Linked DNA regions of Homo sapiens: all the other regions are linked to region 2. Evidence: promoter capture Hi-C in human tissues and cell types (Jung and others, 2019). All regions are on one chromosome and are shown on one strand. Each heading gives the region's core, a stretch centred on a gene start or on the middle of the fragment in contact. The rest is flanking DNA. Distances are from core to core; before and after follow the strand shown. Region 1 overlaps ANAPC10 (anaphase promoting complex subunit 10). Region 2 holds the start of ZNF827 (zinc finger protein 827). Region 3 has its middle 51 kb from the start of OTUD4.

Evidence for each region. Contacts are between HindIII fragments. The study calls those that stand out against the background at their distance.
Region 1: a contact is called between a fragment that was not itself captured here and the fragment with the promoter of ZNF827 in region 2, in 1 of the 25 tissues and cell types used here (dorsolateral prefrontal cortex).
Region 3: a contact is called between a fragment that was not itself captured here and the fragment with the promoter of ZNF827 in region 2, in 1 of the 25 tissues and cell types used here (dorsolateral prefrontal cortex).

The regions. Positions count from the first base shown.
Region 1 is chr4:145,068,482-145,072,842 of GRCh38, reverse strand. The region is part of intron 3 of ANAPC10 (anaphase promoting complex subunit 10); the gene reads left to right. Among named protein-coding and RNA genes, the nearest start is that of ANAPC10, 28 kb to the left of the region's middle. The HindIII fragment of the contact is 9,287 bases long and covers 1-4,361 here.
Region 2 is chr4:145,935,934-145,940,642 of GRCh38, reverse strand. It overlaps ZNF827 (zinc finger protein 827), which reads left to right and starts at 1,820. Exons shown (of 15, transcript NM_001306215.2): 1 at 1,820-2,278. The coding sequence starts at 2,236. RefSeq lists an enhancer at 2,444-2,503 and silencers at 2,878-2,947, 3,068-3,477, 3,578-4,157. The HindIII fragment of the contact is 3,959 bases long and covers 1-3,585 here.
Region 3 is chr4:145,229,470-145,233,596 of GRCh38, reverse strand. No RefSeq gene overlaps it. Among named protein-coding and RNA genes, the nearest start is that of OTUD4, 51 kb to the right of the region's middle. The HindIII fragment of the contact is 6,443 bases long and covers 1-4,127 here.

The DNA of each region.
Region 1 (4,361 bases), core at 1,089-3,588, 870 kb after region 2:
TAGAAATCATTAGACTCAACTAGATATTCATTGGACTTTACTAGTCACCTACATATTGAATTATGAACACCAAAAGGAAATGTTAAATATTTATTGTCAAAGATTGTGACTGAACCATCTGGTATAATTTAGGATTGTGATTTAGGATTGGGTAGATTTTTTTAGCACTTGAGAGCTAACTTTCCTACCTCTATTGGGTAGATTTTTTTAGCACTTGAGAACTAACTTTCCTACCTCTATTATATAAGTTCAGGGTTCAGCTTTCTTCCATTTGATCTTCATCCATGTTTTCATGAAAACATTATGTACTAATGGAAGAAATTCCTGTATTCAAAAAATTATATTACAAACAAGTTTGAAAGAGGTTCAATTTGGAGTTTATATTTTGTTAAACTATTTGGTTCCTTAGATGTTTTTTCTTCACATAGAAAATAAGCAACTCTCGATTTATGTAGCAGTTTCTCAGCTAGTTGAGAAATAATTTGTATGTATTACTGATCTGTTAAGGTGAACATATATTGTAACATATATAAAGCAACATTATTTTATATCTCATTGTGTTTTAAAATTAGAACAAGCTCTTTCTCTGCTCTGGATGAGAACTTGGTGGGGAGCATATAGCACACTTTTTGGTAACCTACCCAGTTTTATGTTTATTTCAAATGGCAAAATATATTTTAGAAATAGAAGTGTTCAGTTCTAGTGAGTAGTGAAAGCCTCAATCTTGCTTTAAAGTTTCTTTAAGTTTTATTCCTCTCCCTAAACTTGGGCTTGTTGCAAGTTGGGTGTAGTTTGCTTCTCTTACCCTACCTAGTTTTTTTTTGTTTTTTTTGTGTTTTTTTTGTCCTTTCACATTTCTGAATTTGTTAGATCTGCTAGTATGGGAACGAAGAAGAGGTAAGAAAAGAAGGAAAGTCTGTAATTGCCATTTGTATCTTGGTGATATAGCATTGATGTTCTCTGTACTTGGCTGTATGTTTAAAGCTGACTATTATCTTATGGATGCTTTTGTGGGTTGAGAGAATCAGCCACCCACATTCACTTAATGCTATGGATGATTTATCTGCAGTTCTCTTGTTGAGGGTATATTAATCATCTTCTTTTTTACATGGTAGTACCTCCAGCTTCCTGATGAGGATTATTCATCCTTTCTAGAAAGAAACTAAGATAACCCTTCAGGTTATCAGGTTATAAAGTTCCCTTTTCCCAGTTTCTTGAGACATTTTTGGATTTTCTCAAATGCCTTTTCTGTATCTGTTCATACGGATCATATGGTTTTTCTTTATTCTGTTGAGATGGTGAATAATAAAATTCAATATTATTTATTTAATATTCTGTTGAGATGGTGAGTAATAAACAGTAAAGATTTTTTTTATTTGTAGTGAAATATAAATATAAGTTTACTGTTATAGCCTTTTTATTTATTTATTTATTTTGAGACGGAGTTTCACTCTCGTTGCCCAGGCTGGAGTGCAATGGCACGATCTTGGCTCACTGCAACCTCTGCCTCCCAGATTCAAGCAATTCTCCTGCCTCAGCCTCCCAAGTAGCTGGGATTACAGGCATGCATCACCACGCCTGGCTAATTTTGTATTTTTAATAGAGATGGGGTTTCTCCATGTTGGTCGGGCTATTCTCGAAATCCCAACTTCAGGTGCTCTGCCCTCCTCAGCCTCCCAAAGTGTTGGGATTGCAGGCATGAGCCACTGTTCCTGGCCAGCCATTTTTAAATGTACAGTTAAGTATCCTTAAGTACATTTACAGTGTTGTGCAACCACTACCACCTCCATCTTCAGAACTTTTCATCATCCTGTGTGGAACCCATTAAATAATAACCACCCAATTTCCTTTTCTCTCCAGCCCATGATAATCGCTGTTTTATTTTTTGCCTCTGTGTATTTCACTGTTCTGGGGACCTGATATAAGTGGAATTATATAATATTTGTCCTTTGGTGTCTAACTTTTCTCACTTAGCCTAATGTTTTCAAGGTTCATTCATGTTGTAGCATGTGTCAGAATTTCATTCCTTTTTAAGGATGAATAATATTCCATTGTATGACTGTGCCACATTTTGTTTATCCATTCGTCAGAGGACATTGGGTTGTTTCTACCTTTCGGCTGTTGTAAATAATACTGTTATGAACATTGGTGTGCAAATATCTGTTCAAGTACCTGATTTCACTTCTTTTGGATATATATCCACAGGTGGAATTGCTGGATCATATGGTAATTCTATGTTTAAGTTTTTGAGTCACCTCCATACTGTTTTTCACAGTAGCTGTACCATTTTACCTTCCCACTGGTAATGCCCAGAAGTTCCAGTTTCTCCACATCCATGCCAACATTTGATAATAGTCATCCTAATGAGTCTGTCTCATTATAGTTTTGATTTTCATTTCCCTAATGTTTTGTGCTATCAAGCATTTTTTTCATGTGCTTCCTGGTTATTTGTATATCTTCTTCAGAGAAATGACTGCTTAAGTCCCTTCCCTCTTTTTACATTGGGTTGTCTTTTTGTTGTTAAGCTGTAAGACTTCTTTATATGTCCTGCTGCAATTGCTCAACTTTGCCATTGTAGTATTAAAGCTCCCATAGACAATGTGTATATGACGGAGTGTCACTTAGTTTCAATAAAATTTTATTTACAAAAATAGGTGGCGGTCCACATTTAGCCTGCAAGCTGTAGCTTACCAAGCCCTGCTTTAGAGCAGAAGTTCTTAAACTTTTTAGTCTCAGTACTGCTTTAAACTTTTATTGAGGACTTCAGAAATCTTTATATATGTATCTCATTATTTACTATTTTAGAAATTATAGATTAGGGACTTTAAATTATTTAGTTATTCACTAAAAATAAACAATAATTAACCTATTATGTGTTAACAACATAAATAACAATTTTATGAAAAATAACTGTCTCTTCCCAAATGAACAACAACAAAAATAGTGAGAAGAGTGTCATTGTTTACATTTTTTGTGAACCTTTTTGGTTCACAAAAAATAGCTGGAGTCTCATTTCTGCTTGTTCATTAAATCTTTTACAATATCCCATGTCAGCCTGTGGAAAACTCTACTACATACTCATAAGAGAATGATTCTGAAAAAGGCAAATTACATCTTAGTAATATTAAGAAAATAGTTCTGACCTTGCTGATCCTCTGAAAGAGTCTTGAGGTCCTCTGTAGGTCCCCAGACCACTCTTTAAGATCATTTCTCTTGGGCAAGATTAGCCTCATTACTAAGGCTTGACTCATCTGGGATCTCAAACGAATGTCTTAGGTATTTGAAGAGGACTTACCACTTCGGTTATTGGGAGCTTTAATGATTCCCAGTCCTCTGTGCCCACTGGAAATTGTTTGGCTTACTGCTTTCCAGTAATTGTTCTTTCCCCAGTGCTTGTTCTTTGCCTATCCTTGTGAAGTTTTGCTGTATGCATGTTCATATTGTGTTCAGGCATAGAATGAAGGGGACCCCACGCATATTTCTGGAGTTTTTTCTTTGTGTAGCTTATTCCTTATCAATTCAGTAGACTACTAGATTCTCTTTGGCATCTCCCTCTTCACATTGCAGTCCCAAAATTGCCTGCAGCCAGAAAACTCAGTTGTTTGTAGGGCTCACCTCATTTATTTTCTTTCTCTCAGGACCTAGAGGCCTGTGCTGCCTGTTGCTCAGCATCTCTGGATGCTTCAGATATGTTCTCCAGTATTCTAGTTGTCTGTAGTGGGAAGGCAAGTCATGTAGCAGTTAACCTTCATGAGCAGATGTCTCGGACTTTCTTGTTTTATTTTATTTTAAGACCGTATCTGCTGAAAATTATGCATTAAGGTCTCATATATCCTTTCAAAACATGGTCTTTGTTGTTGTAGTCTTCCGCGAAAACTTTCATCTTAGCATCTAGTTAACATTGATACAGAGGACATTTTTCACTTCTTATTTTGAGATGGAGTTTCGCTCTGTCACCAGGCTGGAGTACAGTAGCGCAATCTTGGCTCACAGCAACCTCCACCTCCTGGGTTCAAGCGATTCTCCTGCCTCAGCCTCCCAAGTAGCTGGTACTACAGGCACATGCCACCATACCCAGCTACATTTTGTATTTTTAGTGGAGACGGGATTTCACCATGTTGGCCAGGATGGTCTCGATCTCTTGGCCTTGTGATCTGCCTGCCTCAGCCTCCCAAAGTGCTGGGATTACAGGCGTGTGCCACTGCACCCGGCCCCCATTTTTCACTTTTATACCAGGAACATATATGGAAGAATATAGTTATTTATAAATATTTGCTTCTGATTTAAACAACTATGTGGACTGTGTTTATTTTGTCTCAACCTCCTGGTAATATATCTAGCACGTTAAGAAGAACGATTTT
Region 2 (4,709 bases), core at 571-3,070:
GCTAATTTTTGTATTTTTAGTAGAGACGGGATTTCACCATGTTGGCCAGGATGGTCTCGATCTCTTGACCTCGTGATCTGCCCACTTCCGCCTCCCAAAGTGCTGGGATTACAGGGTGCTCCATTTTAAACTTGACTGCTCTCTGTTTTGGTTTTAGATTGAATTCATGCAGGTGTTTCAAACCTCGCTTTCAATAGCATTACTTGTTACTGGGAAGCTAGATCTTTTGGGGGGAGTTGGCAGGGAGGGGTTGAACGTGAGATTTCTCTATCAGTGAAAGACATCTTTTGGGAGATACAGCACTCTTTAAGCTTCACTTATAAAAGTGTGCAATATAAAGCCTTATTATTATTTTTAATAAGGCAAGTCAGAATTTAACCCCCATGGCTCTCTTTAACACCACTGAAGTTGTAAGAATTAACTCAACCTCAAAGAGGCATGAGTTATCCATGTAGGCTTATAGAGTGTCATTTTAATGTTCTATGTCTTTACTGTGCCTCCACTTTCTTTGATGAAAAGGTCTATTTAAAAATTGGTAGGAAAATATTTAACATAATAAGATGATGAGTCAGAGTTTTAAAAAAGCTAAAAAGGGAAGATGTAGTTAAATAATGCACCTTTTTATTTTCTAGCTACATGACTCATGACATATAATGTATTCTGCTAAGTTCAAAGTTTCCTCTTACAAAGAGAGTTTTATGAAACAACTCTTCTTCAGACCATTTTTATTTCAATTATAGTAGCAGGTTTTGGAGTTTAAATCATTAACAACCTCTGAGTGAACTTTTATCCAAATGACTGCAAGTCACAAAGAGAACAGTCCTCTTTCACCAAGTACCTTTTGTGCTCTAGTGAGACCCGTCCTTTTCTATTTTTCTCCTTTATGTCTCTCTTTGAAGAAAGATGTGTGATTTGTAAGGTAATGAAAGTATGTATCAGTTAATGAAAACTGCTATATTGGGCTCATAATGCACACTGGAATTGCTTCAGGGTAAACTTCATATACCTGCAGTATATAGCAGGGGAAAAAGTGAATTTCCGAAGTAAAGATTGCTGTGTGCACTCTAGGAGTATCACGTAGCAGTTAAAGCAACCATCAGGGGTGACCTAATCTTATTTTCCTCTCTTTGTCAAGTAGCTGTAATGTTCATTTAGGAGCATTTTTCAGTTTTAACTCCAGTGGACACTCCAAAACTGGGCACTTATTCTGTCAACTGTCAACCAAGTTATTGATTTCACCATATGTTGTCTTCATTTTTTTTAAATTAGTTTTTTTGGAATGTTTTTGAAGAGTGTGTGGGAGACGATAACCTCCAGATTTAAGGTGATGGGGTAGGGACAAAAGCCTGCAGAATTTCATACAGAACAAAATGTAGCTTAATAAACAAAAGAAAGTGAAGAGAGAAATTTATTTCCTTTTTAAAAGTCAGTAAAATAATGAACTAATCGTTGTTTAAAGAGTGAGAAAAACTTTTTCCCCCTAGATTTGGTGACTAGCGGGATAAATTTGAAGAACTCCATCCCACCCCCGCACGCGCGCCCCCCATTCTTTCCAGACAGAGCGGTTGTAAATCCGAGGCTGAGTCCGCCCTGGGAGCCTTGGGGCACTTTCCTCTTTGCTCTGTGTGTGTGTGTGCGTGCGTGTGTGTGTGTGTAGCTCTCGCTCTTTCCCTCAGTCTGTGCCTCTTGTGTGTGTGTGTGTGTGACAGAGAGAGAGCGAGAGAGAGAGCGCGAGAGGAGAGAGAGCGAGAAAGAGAGAGAGAGAGAGCAAGAGAGCGAGCTGTGAGCTGTGCTGCCGCCGCCGCTGCCCTTTGATCCCGACATTAGTGTTAGGGGCTCGGAGACACAGAGCGCGGCCATAGACACCGCCGCACCGGCACTCATTTATTTATACCTCCCATCACACACGCGAGCATAGGACACACACACACTCACACCTATTAGATCCGTTTCCATTGAAGAATATTACGCTCGGGGACAAGCCAGGTGCACGACCAAAAATTTAAAAAAAAAAAAAAAAGGAAAAAAGAAAGGAAAGAAAAGAAGAAAACCCCTCTTCTGGCTCCAGGAAACAAGCTTCAACCCATTGCACACACCGGAGAAGGGGTTTCCCCCTGCCCGCCCGCCCGCCCCCCAACTACCTCCCCGCTCCTGCCAGTGTCTGCCTCTCTGCCCCCACGGGGGTTTATTTGATCTCACATTAACCAAGGAGGAGAATGTGAGAAAAGGGGGAAAATGCCCAGGAGGAAGCAGGAGCAGCCCAAGCGCCTTCCCTCACGTAAGTCATCCCTTCTCCACCTCCTCTCGTGCCATTTTCTCGCCCTCCCTCTCCTCTTTCCCCTCCGCAGCCTCCTCCGTTGTTTTCTGCATTAGTTTAGGGTTACAGAGGTGAAACTGACAAAGACACAGCCCGGGTTACTCCTCGTTTAGGTCTATGCTGAGGCAGCCATGTTGGTGATGATCAGCCCCGTGCCCTTTCTATTCTCTCTCTCTTTTTCTTTCTTTCTCTCACCCCCCCCCTTTTTTTCCTTGAGATCGGGCTTTTTTTTCCCTTTCCCTCCCCTTCCCCCTCCTCACTCTGGGTTGCTGGGGGGAGGGGGCAAGAGAAGGGAGGAGGGGAGTAGTGTGGATGCCGGGGGTTTTATCGGGGGTTTGGTGGGGGGAGGTGGGAGAGGTTGGAATCTTAAAAAAAAAAAAATTCCTTGTGGATTCCGGCGCCTGAGGGTGCGGGGGTCGGGGCGCGCGGAGGGCTGGGGGCCGTGACATGGCGTTTGGGGGTGTCGGGGAGAGGGCGCGCAGCAGCCGCCGGGTACAGGATCCAGGGAGAGGTCCGTCCCTGGCTAAAGGTTGCGCCGGGGTTGGTCGGCCCCCGAGCCGCCGGCGGCAGCGGCGGCGGCGGCTGGAGCAGGAGGAGGCGGAGGTGGAGGAGGCGGCGGCGGAGGAGGGGAGTCGGGGGCGGGCGAGGCGGGAGCGGCTGGGGAGGGTGTAGGGGCACCGCACACAAACACACGGGTACACACGCGCCGCCGGGCGGCTGCTCCCGCGGCGCCGAGGCGAGGGGGCGCGCCGGGGCGCGGGGCGGCCGGGCGGGGGGCGAGGCCGGGCAGCGGCGGGCGGATGTGGGGTGCGGGAGCTGCGCCGAGGCGAAGGCAGGAGGCAGGGCGGCTCGCGGCGCGCGAGGTCCCTGCAGAGCGGAGGAGAGGGAGGAGCAGGGCTCCTGGCCGCAATAAAATGCGGGGTCAGTCGGAGCAGACGGAGCCGGGCGAGACTCGGGCTCTCAGACCCCCTCCTTGGCGAGCCTGAGCAGAGTCCAGGACTAAAGTGCATCACAGCCCTCCCCGGCGGCAGCCACACACGCCAACTGGAGACACACACCCGCCGGCACGGCCCGGTCCCCTTCCCCTCCTCCACCCGCGCCCCCGGTCCCTCTCCGCCCTCCCTCCGGCTTTTCTTTGCGCGACTCTTAACTTTTCCCCCACTCCCTCTCCAGCTCCCCCCAACCCCCCAGTCTTTCTCCGCTTTGAGTGTTTCGAGATGCTGCTAAAGCTAAAAGTGAAGGAGAAAGAAGCAACTAAAAATATCCCCCGGGGCCGCCCGGCTCCTTGAATGCAGGGAAGAGGGGGCAGGGGAGAAGGCGTGGGGCGGGGTGACGGGGAGGAGGGGACGCGGGAGGCGCCGGAGGGAGGGGTCGGGGGAGACGGAGGGTCAATTTCTCTTCTCTCCCCCCACACTACTCCCCTCTCCCGGCGGTTTGGCGCTGCTCGGAGCCCGATCCTGCAAAACCCGGGCTGGGGGCGGGAGTGGAGCCGGAGCGCCCGCCCGCCCGGGTGTCAGGCCGACGTGGTCGGTCACCTGAAGTTCACGGAGGGTGGGGGAAGGGTTAAGGTTATGGTGTCTCGGGCTCGGGCTGTGTGTGAGCTTGTGCTTTTCCGCTGCAGACAGGCAGGGCGATCGATCTCCCCCTCGCGAAATAACCGCGGCGGTGCCTGCCCAGGGGACCGGGAGGGGGGCGCGGGCTGCTCGGGCCAGGCGCCCCCGCGCCTCCGTGTCACCCGGGCCGCAGCCGAAGTGGCGAGCAAGGGCACTTGCAAGCAGTCCGCTCCGCAAACATTCCTCTTTCTTTCCCCTTCCCGGTACGCAGGAGTCGACGCAAAGGGCTTGGGTTGTGCTTTTTTCCCCTTCCTTTAAAAAAAAAAAATGCCCCTGTGCAGTCCTTTCTTCGCCTGCCCGCTAGAGGTTCTGAGGATAATATCACATATGTAATATATATGCACATAAAATCACTCGCAGGCGGCTGCGTGTGTAGGGAAATTTTGTGCGAGGAAGGAGAAGGCGGTGGAGTCGGGGAGGGCGAGTTGGGAGGCTCCGCGCTGCGATTCACAGAAAACTCGCAGCAGTTGGTGGAAGAGTGTGCGTGCACATGGCCGGACTGCCCCGCTGCCGGGCTCTTGTCGGGGGCGTGTGGGGGGAGGGAGAGGAGGCAGGAATCCTGAGGGGGTCAGGGGAGGTCTGCCGTGCTTGGACAAAATGGGCTTCAGTGTTCTCTGCGAACTTGCCCTTAGATGGCAACTTTGGGAGCTGATGAGCTTGTGTGCGAAAACAGGGCGGTGAGGTTATTTGGTCATTTTCCCTTTCTTCTCTTCTCCCCCTGCTTTAAAAAAAAAAATGTTGGCGGGGTTAGAGGGAGGGTGGGAGAGGAGAAGGGATTT
Region 3 (4,127 bases), core at 1,519-4,018, 710 kb after region 2:
TTCTAGAGGATCCACAAACCTGGGGAAAAATATACTTTTTTTGTACGTCTTCCCCAATATTTAAAACTATATTTTGGGGAGAAAAACTTTTTGTATAACATTTTATGAAAGCATTGTTTCATAATAAATAAGTAAAAAGCAGTATGCAAAATTACAGTTTGGTACATTATTGGTGTCATTGGCCTGTTATAATATTTACCAGGCCATTCTTTGACATGAATTGAAAATGAAACATGATTATGAACATCTGTTTATACCTTAATATCAGTTTAGGCTAGGATATATCACCAAAAAAAAAGAATCCCTCTTTTTTTTTTTTGAGACCGAGTCTCGCTCTGTCGCCCAGGCTGGAGTGCAGTGGCGCAATCTCAGCTCACTGCACCCGCCTCCAGGTTCAAGCGATTCTCCTGCCTCAGGCTCCCCAGTAGCTGGGACTACAGGCGCCCACCACCACGCCTGGATAATTTTTTTTTATTTTTAGTAGAGATGGGGTTTCACCGTGTTAGTTAGGATGGTCTCAATCTCCTGACCTCATGATCACCCGCCTTGGCCTCTCAAAGTGCTGGGATTACAGGCATGAGCTACCGTGCCCAGCAAAAATCTCGCTTTTTTTTTTTTTTTTTTTTTTTTTTTCTTGAGACGGAGCCTCACTCTGTCGCCCAGGTTGGAGTGCAGTGGCACAATCTCGGCTCACTGCAAGCTCCGCCTTCCGGGTTCACGCCATTCTTCTGCCTCAGCCTCCCAAGTAGCTGGGACTACAGGCGCCTGCCACCATGCCCGGCTAATTTTTTGTATTTTTAGTAGAGACGGGGTTTCACCGTGTTAGCCAGGATGGTCTCGATCTCCTTACCTCGTGATCCGTCTGCCTCGGCCTCCCAAAGTGCTGGGATTACAGGCGTGAGTCACCGCGCCTGGCCAAGAATCTCTCTTTATCTCTGTCTGCCCCCTTGGATTTTGCTTGCATTGTTGAACATATTACCTATGGAAGCAGGAACCGAACAAAGCTGAAGTGATCCCTTACATCCTGAAAATACACTGCACAGTCTGCCTCTTTTGCCTTAGTAAAAGGGTCAATTGGAAAGCATTAAAAACTTGGATTTTCTCCAACACAAAGATGTATTGTCTTGAGTCATCCTGCAAGATCGCTTGCTGCACGACTAAATAAAAGACCTTGCTGAAGCAAAATGTCCTGGAAATGGTTATTCTGATTTGTAATTTGAAGGAAAATTTAAAAAGTAAAACAATGCTTCTGTCAAATCTTCTCATCCATTCCAGAATCACTAAAATCTATTCCAATATTTTGAAGCAGATCATGAAGGAATCGCTATTTCTCTTCATCGTGAAAGTATTGACATCTGTTGGCAGAGCCAGGTCCAGTTCCCATGTTATCTGCACAAGAACAGCATCAAATGAGGATTTCTATTTTGGGAGCACTTTTAGAAAGTTCAAAGGCCTCCTATGGTGTTGAAATTGTAAAAACTTTATTGGCCAAACAAAATTTCCACTCAAAGAAACATTGATACTATGCATGCTTGGAGAACTAGCAATGAGATTCATTCCATTCTAGATTGTCTTGCATTAGTGTCAAAGGTAAATCCCAAATAAAATTTTGCTTGCAACCACAAAGTCATCAACCTATTTAGCTTCAGAGCCTTGCATTTCTGTCTTTTCAAGAAGTTTTCTTAGAAAAGCAGATTATGAAGTTTTCTTTTGCTATATGGAAATTCATCAGCTGTCTGGAAGTTAAGTCTAATAGAACTTAATTGAACTTGGGGTAAGTAACTCTTTGATAACTTCTACTTAGTCTTAAGATTGCAGATTAAACAATGTTTTCTTATTGGTTAAGTCTCCATTATTTTTTCTCACAGAACAATATACCTTTTCTCCACAGCAACTTTACATGTGTGTTTATGACTATTTGATTAATATCTGTCTTCCCCATTAGACTGAAGGCTCAATGAGGCCAGGCACTGATTCTATTTTAGCTGATCATTGTATCTCTGGCACACAGCACAATGCTGAGCACATAGTGGGTGCTCAGTAAATACTTAGAAATATATGAATGAATGAACAGAAGAACGAACAGCAAGGAAGAGATTTTTTCATAGTCTTCCAGATATATGTGGCCATTTGAACAACTAAAAAATGCAGATGCCCCTATTATAAGGTTTTATCTGAATTAAGCTAATTCCTATAATAATCCTATCAAATAGGTACTGTTTTACTCACTGATGAAGAAACAGGCAAGTCACTTGCTTAAATTACCATGGTTAGCAAGGGGGTGGAGCAAAGCTTTTAACCTTGGTAGTCTAAATTTGGAGCCCATACTCCTAACTACAGGTCTCATACTCACCATTATGGAGTTGTTGGAAAACCGCACTTTGGAGGAAGTACCTCTCTGTATGTGAATATTCGAGGTAAGCAACTGTAGAAACTTTCCAGATCTGGGGGAAATTCTTCTGGCAGCTAGAGTCTGTAGTGGCCATCTCTCTGCGGGAAGAAACTGCAGCACTTGGAAACACTGCAAAACTCTGCTCAAAATACCATGTAGACAGTGCCAGTAACAAAGATGTTCTCAATGATCTGGGGAAAAAAAAAAAGGCACAAATAGAATCTAACTCATAAACTGTTTGAGAATTCTGGTATTTTTTGATACAATCCTTACTTGAAAAAGCAAGCAAGCAATGGGAATTTTGATTCCATCTGCAATTACTCACCCTTGGAAGTCAGAGATTTCATAACTTTCTATCATTAGTGTTAGAGTTGACATCTGTGGAATGTCAAAGTTGAAAAAGTTGGCATGTTAACCTGCCAGTGACCGCTCCAAAAGTTGTTCTTATTGAAGTTAAAAAAAAAAAAAAAATCCATGTACTTTTGGAATGTCCTTGTTAACAGAAATTTCCTATTGAATTTCTTTTTTTTAAATTTTAAATACACAATTTGGATTTATTTTTTAAGTTGTTACATATTGGCCACTTTTTTTTCTGAGAATATAAGTGAAAAAATCAAATTCATTATTTACTAAAATATTATCTGTCTCTGAGGAGGCAAAATATTGTACATAAATTTGTGTGAGTACTTACATGCACATCTTAAAATCTGTGACCCCAAAGGAATTAAGAACCACCAATCTCTCTCTCTTTGTTTTTTGTTTGTTTGTTTGTTTTTGTTTTTTTGAGACAGAGTCTTGGTCTGTCACCCAGGATGGAGGGCAGTGGTGCCATCTCAGCTCACTGCAACCTCCACCTCCCGGATTCAAGCGATTCTCCAGTCTCAGCCTCCCAAGTAGCTGGGACCACCATGCCTGGCTAATTTTTTGGCATTTTGAATAGAGACGGGGTTTCACCATGTTGCCCAGGCTGGTCTTGAACTCCTGGCCTCAAGTGATCTGCCTGCTTTGGCCTCCCAAAGTGCTGGAATTACAGGCATAAGCCATTGCACCAGGCCTTCTTTTTTTTTTTTATGTATAACAAATAGAATTTATTTCTCACAGTTCTGGATGCTGGGAAGTCCAAGGTCAAGGTGCCAGGAGGTTCTGTGTCTGGTGAAGTCAGCTCTCTGCTTCATAGGTGGTGCTCTGTTGTTGCATACTCACATGGTGGGAGGAAGACAGGCAAGAGGGCCTGACTAGTTCTCTCCACCCCCAAGGTCACTAATGAGAGCTCCACCCTCATGACCTAATCAGCTTCTACAGGCCCTCTATACCTAATTCCATTGCACTGGGTATTTAAGTTTCAACATGAATTTTGAGGGGGACATAAGCTTTCAAACCATAGCGCCTCCCTAATGAATAAGTTTCTTGTATGTATTTTATTTTTTCTTCCAGTGCAAGTATTTCTGTTTCTATGAGCTCTCTAAATAGTGATTCAGGGACTCAGATTTCATCCATCTTTGACCTTTTCATCTTCAACATATGATTCCTAACATCATAATAGTAAAGTTTGCCTTCATTCCAGCCAATTTAAAGAGGAAAAGAGCATGGATGATCAAACATGCAGTTTTTCATGAGCCAAGCTTGAAAGAGGGATAAACCCTTTATACTCACCTCCCATTGGTCAATTCAGTCTCAATGTGTCACCTACATACAAGGGGATGGGAAATGTGGCTCCTGGATGAGTGTTTACTTC